Regions from separate parts of the Homo sapiens genome. Here region 1 is linked to region 2. Evidence: promoter capture Hi-C in human tissues and cell types (Jung and others, 2019). All regions are on one chromosome and are shown on one strand. Each heading gives the region's core, a stretch centred on a gene start or on the middle of the fragment in contact. The rest is flanking DNA. Distances are from core to core; before and after follow the strand shown. Region 1 overlaps RNF10 (ring finger protein 10). Region 2 holds the start of HNF1A (HNF1 homeobox A).

Evidence for each region. The method cuts DNA at HindIII sites, captures the fragments that hold promoters and counts their contacts. A contact is called where the count stands out against the background at its distance.
Region 1: a contact is called between a fragment that was not itself captured here and the fragment with the promoter of HNF1A in region 2, in 1 of the 25 tissues and cell types used here (lymphoblastoid cells).

Annotation. Positions count from the first base shown.
Region 1 is chr12:120,560,222-120,563,601 of GRCh38, reverse strand. It overlaps RNF10 (ring finger protein 10), which reads right to left. Exons shown (of 17, transcript NM_014868.5): 7 at 2,716-2,876; 8 at 532-657; 9 at 1-255. Among named protein-coding and RNA genes, the nearest start is that of POP5, 19 kb to the left of the region's middle. The HindIII fragment of the contact is 5,481 bases long and covers 1-3,380 here.
Region 2 is chr12:120,977,215-120,980,637 of GRCh38, reverse strand. It overlaps HNF1A (HNF1 homeobox A), which reads right to left and starts at 2,095. Exons shown (of 10, transcript NM_000545.8): 1 at 1,544-2,095. The coding sequence starts at 1,869. The HindIII fragment of the contact is 9,653 bases long and covers 1-3,423 here.

The DNA.
Region 1 (3,380 bases), core at 525-3,024, 420 kb after region 2:
AGAGCTGCTGAGGCGTGTGAAGCCTGACTTGGTGATGGGTTCCTGCTGGCTGGACTCAGTGCAAATGGTCCCCTCTTTAAGATTGTCATCTGCTAACTCCAAGTCATCACAGGCCTCTGGCAACCCCTCAGGCTCTGGTTCAGACACTGCTTCCTCCTCTTCTACCAGAGGGAGAGCAAGAGGTCTAGAAGGAGTGTCCAGAGAACAAACTTCCGTGGTTTCTTCATCGAAGGCAGACAGATACTCCAGCACACCCTGTTGCAGCAAACTCTAAGTCAACAGAAAGGATATCTCCTGCTTTCCGAAAGCAATGTGGCAAATGCAGACCTAAGAGCCAAGCTCCCTAGATGTTTATCTTAGCTGTCGTGTTCACTGATTTAACACCCCTGGGGAAAGAACTAATAACAAGCATACAGAAAATACTCATTGTCCCCTCTTCTCTTGAGAAGGTTTAGATCTCACAGTAATGCCTACCAGCTCAATGACAGCATTTGAGGAACGGCAGCCACTTAGTAACAGGAACACACTAACCTTCCTGGGTTGAAAAACAGACTCCTTCGCCAAGGGAGCCATCAGCACCAGTTGTTCCAGAGCAGCCACAACACCAGTGACCTCCCTTCTGCTTCCGGCCAATCCCGACAGAGCCTCTTCCCGAGTCTAACGTGGCCAGAGAGAACACCAGAGAAGGTTAAGTTTCCAGACACACACTTAGCTTGAAGGGCAAGGGCTTAGAATGGCCTCTCAACAGGACCAAAAGTTAAAAGGCAATGAGACCCAATGGGAAGGAATTAGGTGCTTAAATATCTCAACTTTGAGGGAAACAGGAAGCAAAAAGCATGCAATACCCACTAAGGATTGGAATCTGCTTAGAATCTGACACTGGGGAGTGTAAATTAGTTCAATCATTGTGGAAGACAGTGTGGTGATTCCTCAAAGACCTAAAGACAGAAATAAAATTTCACCCAGCAATCCCATTACTGGGTATATAGCCAAAGGAATATAAATCATTCTACTGTAAAGACACATACGGCCAGGTGTGGTGGCTCATGCCTGTAATCCCAGCACTTTGGGAGACTGAGGTGGGCGGATCACCTGAGGTTGGAAGTTCAAGACCACCCTGACCAACATGGAGAAACCCCATCTCTACTAAAAATACAAAATAACCCAGGCATGGTGGGGCATGCCTGTAATTCCTGCTACTCAGGAGGCTGAGGCAGGAGAATCACTTGAACCTTGGAGGCAGAGGTTGTGATGAGCCGAGATCACGCCACTGCACTCCAGCCTGGGCAACGAGAGCAAAACTCTGTCTCAAAAAAAAAAAAAAAAAAAAGAAAGAAAGAAAAAGAAAAACCAAATATCGCACACATGTTCTCACTTCTAAGTGGGAGCTAAATGATGAAACATGGACACATAGAGGGGAACACACACTGAGGCCTATCAGAGGGTGGAGAGTGGGAGGAGGGAGGGGATCAGGAAAAATAACCAATGGGTACTAAGCTTAATACCTGGGTGAAAATCTGTATAACAAACCCCCATGACACAGGTTTACCATGTAACAACCTGCATTTGTACCCCTGAACTTAAAAGTTAAAAAAAATAAAAGAGAATCTGACACAAACAACACTATACAAAAAACTTCCAGAACAGAAATCTAAGAACATGAAACTAACCTAGTTTTTACAAACTATGCTCAGACAGAGGTCCAGAGTAGTAGGAAGGATTTAGCTAACTCCACCTCAGCCTGGACAGCTCTAATTCTATGTAGCCTTTCTTATGCCTGTAATGGCATTTGAACAAATACGGCTGCAACGTATTATAGAAAGAAAGCAAAAGTTAAATACACAGGACTCTACCCAAGGAGCCCTTGGGAGTCAGGGAGAAGGGAATTCAAATACCAGCTGCATCCCTTACTAGCAAATTACCCAACCCAGGATTCAGTTTCCTCATCCATGAAAGGGGATAGTTCTATCTACCACACTAGAAGCTTAAGTGAGATAAATGTGTATAGCACAAGTCCTATCAAATGCTGATCACTCAATAAATATGGGCTTCTATTGCTCTAAGCTAGATCAGTGGTTCCAGGAGTGTGGTCTGGGGATGAGCAGCCATCAGAATCACCCTAGAACTTGTTATATGCAAATTACTGAGCCTACTGAGCTTAACCTATGCAATCAATATCTCAAAGTGGGACCTAACAACCAGTGGTTGTGATGCTTCAAGAATCTCTGTTGTGGAAGATAAAAGACCCAGGGAATTCTGTTCTTGTGTAATTCTTGCCGTTTCAGGTACTCCTAAGGCATACTGGGCAGGCCATAATACTTTCTCCACAATGTCTTTCAAAACACCTCTAGAATAGAATCTTAAGTATTTTCCCAGAAAACAAAGAACTCTAACTTGCTTTAAGAACATAGCTAATCTAAAAAACTCCACTGTCACAATTAGTTATAAAATCATTTTGACTTGCTCCTTTCAGCTCTAGAAAGAGCTTTAAAAGCCCTAGGTTAAACCTTCTCTACTGTCATCAAACAAAGCCCAAAACAAATTGGCTTTTTTAGCCATTCTCTGCTTATTGTCTTAAATGTGGAATGGAACTAACTTAATCCCCAGCGTCCATCATCTCACCCCCGACAGAGTGAAAAGGTTTAGCATTTCTGGTTTTCACCACAGAACGCCGAGAAAGTGAAAAGGTTTAGCATCTCCAATGCATCCTCTCACCTTGAGCTCCTGGATAGCTGCCTCAATAAAGCAGGACTCGGGAGTGTGCTTCTCCTCTGCCAGCTGCTGCTCTAGTGCTACTTTCTCCTCCAGAACTACCCGGTGCAGCACCTGCTCCTTAGAGGCCAGCAGCAACTTGGAGTACTGGCTGTGCTGTTCATCTATAAGAATGCCAGCAAGATCAAAGAAATGCAACATTCAAAGCTCACGATGGTGTAGCTAAATAGGAATTTTCAAATACAGCCTTTTCTCTGGGGTGAAAATGGGGTAATTTAGCATGATTTCCTAGAAAATAATTTAACAATGGTCTTAAAATAAGGTCTGTAGCTCTGCTCTTGATATAAGAAATCTAAGAAACCCAGAGATGTAGTCAAAACTTTAGTCACGCGTTTATTGTTACAGCATTGTATGTAATATCAGAAAAGCTCAAACCAGCCAGGCACCATGGCTCACACCTGTAATCCCAGCACTTTGGGAGGTCAAGGCGGGTGGATCACTTGAGATCAAGAGTTCGAGACCAGCCTGACCAACATGGTGAAACCCCGTCTCTACTAAAGATACAAAAAAGTTAGTCGGGCCTGGTAGGGCATGCCTGTAATCCCAGCTACTTGGGAGGCTGAGGCAGGAGAATCGCTTGAACCCAGGAGGCAGAGGTCGCAGTGAGC
Region 2 (3,423 bases), core at 846-3,345:
AAGCATCCCCTGCCCCCACCCTCACCCCAAAGCCCCCAGTCCCATCTGGGGCCCTGGGCAGGTCAGGCCCAGCCCCACCCCGTCAGGTTGCCTTCGCCCTGGGTCTGGGATGCCTGACTCTTTGCCCCTCCCCTGCAGCTCTGGAGTCCTTTGCCCTCCTCTTCCTGCCAAGTCAGGGGGCCCTGACTGCTCCCCTGCCCCCTGTCCAGGCCCTCGGGAGGCTCCCTGAGGCCTCTGGGAAAGCAGGAATCCACCAGCCCTCCCCCACCCCAGCTGGGATCAGGACCTTGGACAGAAAAGAGATGGGCCCCTTTGGAGCATCTTTGGGGCTCGGTCTCTCTCTGACTCCCTGGCCACCCCCTGCAGGCCTCTGGTCCCCGGTCATAGCAATTGAGAGCACCGAACAGAGTAGGTTTGGGGCCTCAGTTTGGTGAACTTAGTCTAGCTCCTTCCCGGCTCTAAGCCCCAGTTTCCCCATTTGTGAAGCAGAGTCACCAATAGCTTCTGCCCAGGACTCCTCACCATGAAGGGAAATTATTCCTGTGAAACCTCAGCACAGCGCCCAGGAAGTAGTGAACCTCCTCAAGCAGGCGCTGTAGGGTGGAGGTCAGGGAGCCGCTGGGGAGGGGTGGCCCCTGTAGCCCCCAGGCCATCCTTCCTTCTCCCCCACACCCCCATCCCCCACCCCCACTAGGTGGGAGGTGGGTTGGCCCAGATCTTTCCAGGCCACCATTCCTACAAGTTAATGATCACAGACCTTATCAGAGCCTTTTGCCATTTATAAATTTATAAAACAAAAGAGAAATAATAAAGCACATGGGTAATTAGTAACTAGGTCAGCTCTGCTGAGGAGAGGGGAGGCATCGAGCTCAGGACCCACCCAGTTCTCCAGGAGACGGGGAGTCCGCCAGCGGATGGGGATGTAGAACGGGCAGCCTCTAATGGCGCCTGCTGGTGAGGTGGGGTGCCTGTGGCCATACAGGAAAGGGGAGCAGCTCCCACCTCGAGGCTCTGTCTGCCTCAGGTAAGAAAGACCTGGGCTTCCCTGGCTAAACGCATGAGTCCCTAGGAGGCCAGGAAAGCCCCCAAACCCCAGCTTCGGGCCCTCCTCCCTGGCAGTGCTTCCTGGGCCCCGGAGCCTACCCACTGAGGACTCAGTGCAGGAGTTAGGGTCTGGAGAGTATAAATGATCAGAGTGGCTAAAAATTTCCACCACCTCCCAGTTCTCCAGGCATTTGAGTTGTGAACTCACCTGCTTTTTCTCCCATCTTGGACCCCCCTGGGAAATGTCCCCCTTGCCCAAGGACTGGGCTAAAGGCCTGGGCTCATGGGATTTGGGACTCTGCAGAGGAGCAGTTCAGGGGCTGGAGGCTCAAACCTCCAAGCAAGGACCCCTGGGCTCTCATGGGCCCTGTCCCCCTTCCCAGCAACTAGGCTAAAGGCTGAAGGTCATGGGGACTCAACTCAGAAGGGGGGCTCGTTAGGAGCTGAGGGGGGCCCCTCTAGGCTCTCCTGGGAGCGGGGACGGGGCAGGGCTCCTTACTGCAGAAGGGTCTCCACCACGGCTTTCTGGTGGGCCGCCTCCTCAGGGCTGAGGTTCTCCAGCTCTTTGAGGATGGGTGGCGTGAAGTCTTCCCCATCGTCGTCCGTCTCGTCCTCGGAGCCCCGAGTCTCCCCCAGCCCATTGGGCAGCTCAGCCAGCTCCCCTCGACCGCCGCCGCAGGACTCCCCCTTGTCCAGGGGGCCTTCTCCAGCCAGGAGGTAGGGCCCCGGCTCACCCAGTGCCTGGATCAGTGCCTCTTTGCTCAGCCCTGACTCGAGCAGGGCCGCCAGGAGCTCCGTCTGCAGCTGGCTCAGTTTAGAAACCATGGCTCGGCTGCCACAGGGCCACGCGGCCCGGGTCCACCACGCTAGCCGCCTCCCCCACCGCGTGGGTTGCGTTTGCCTGCCGGCCGGCAGACACAAACCAAACTCCTTGCACCCACTGCCCCCCCAAAACCCCACTAGCCAAGCCCTGTGGGCACCCCCAACCCCCAACCCTGGCCCCAGCGGCCCGTGAATCAGGGCCCCTGCCTGTTCTGTTTACATTGGAGCTGGGGAAATTCTCCAAGGTTCATATTTATCCGTGTGCTTAGCGAAGGGACTGAACTTTGGACTTCAGCCCTGCAAAGTGCAGGCCTCATGGCAGCGGAGAGGGACAGGGAGCTATGGCCTGCGATGGGAGTGGGCAGAGGGGAGGGTGGGGGAGGCGCAGGTGAGGGGCCCTGAGCAGCTGGGATGGAAGGTGCTGGGAGCCAGGGAGGCCATCAGGAGAGCAGCGTTGGGTCCCACCCCCGAAAGAACCTTGTAGGGGCATCATGCTGAGACAGGAGAGCCAAAAATGCTTGCTGCTTACGAGAGCGGCAGCAGCAGGGAGCTCTAGACAGCTGGGCTAGCTCTTCTCAAGGGCAGAGGATGCTCACGGCCATTTTGGGGCCCTTCCATCCATTTTGGGACCCTTCCACCCCACTCCCGGCCTGACACCAGGCCTCCCTGTAGGAAAAAATATGTTAAGATTACCATGTGCCAAGAACAGTGCTGGCTCTGTGAGGGCGAATTCACTTCATTGCATTCTGCTACCAACTGTGAGCAGTTACAGAGATTATCCCCATTTTATAGAGGAGGAAATCGAGGCTCTGAGCGGTTAAGTAACTTGTCCAGGGTCATACAGCCAGCAAGGCAGAAAACATGCAAGGTGAGACTGAGTTGGGATGAGTGTGACACTTGCCTCAGGTGCAAATTTATTTTTTTATTTTTTGAGCTATGTTCTCACTTTGTCACCCAGGCTGGAGTGCTGTGGCGCGATCATGGCTTACTGCAGCCTTGACTTCCTGGGTTCAGGTGATCCTCCCGCCTCAGCCACCCAAGTACCCAAGTAGCTGGCACTACAGGCACGCACCACGACACCCAGCTGATTTTGTGTGTGTGTGTTGTGTGTGTTTGGGTTGTGTGTGTGTGTGTTTTTGAGACAGAGTCTCACTCTGTCACCCAGGCTTGGAGTGCAGTGGAGCAATCTTGGCTCACTGCAACCTCCGCCTCCCAGGTTCAAGCGATTCCCCTGCCTCAGCCTCCGGAGTAGCTGGGATTACAGGCACATACCACTACACCCGGCTAATTTTTTTGTATTCTTTATTGAGTTGGGGTTTCACCATGTTGGCCAGGCTGGTCTTGAACTCTTGACCTCAAGTGATTCGTCCGCCTCGGCCTCCCAAAGTGCTGGGATTACAGGTGTGAGCCACTGTGCCCGGCCTTGTGTGTGTATTTTTTGTGGAGACAGGGTCTTGCCATGCTGCCCAGGTTGGTCTCAAACTCCTGGACTCAAGCCATCCGCCCACCTCAGCCTCCCAAAGTGTTAGGATTACAGGCGTGCGCCACCATGCCTGG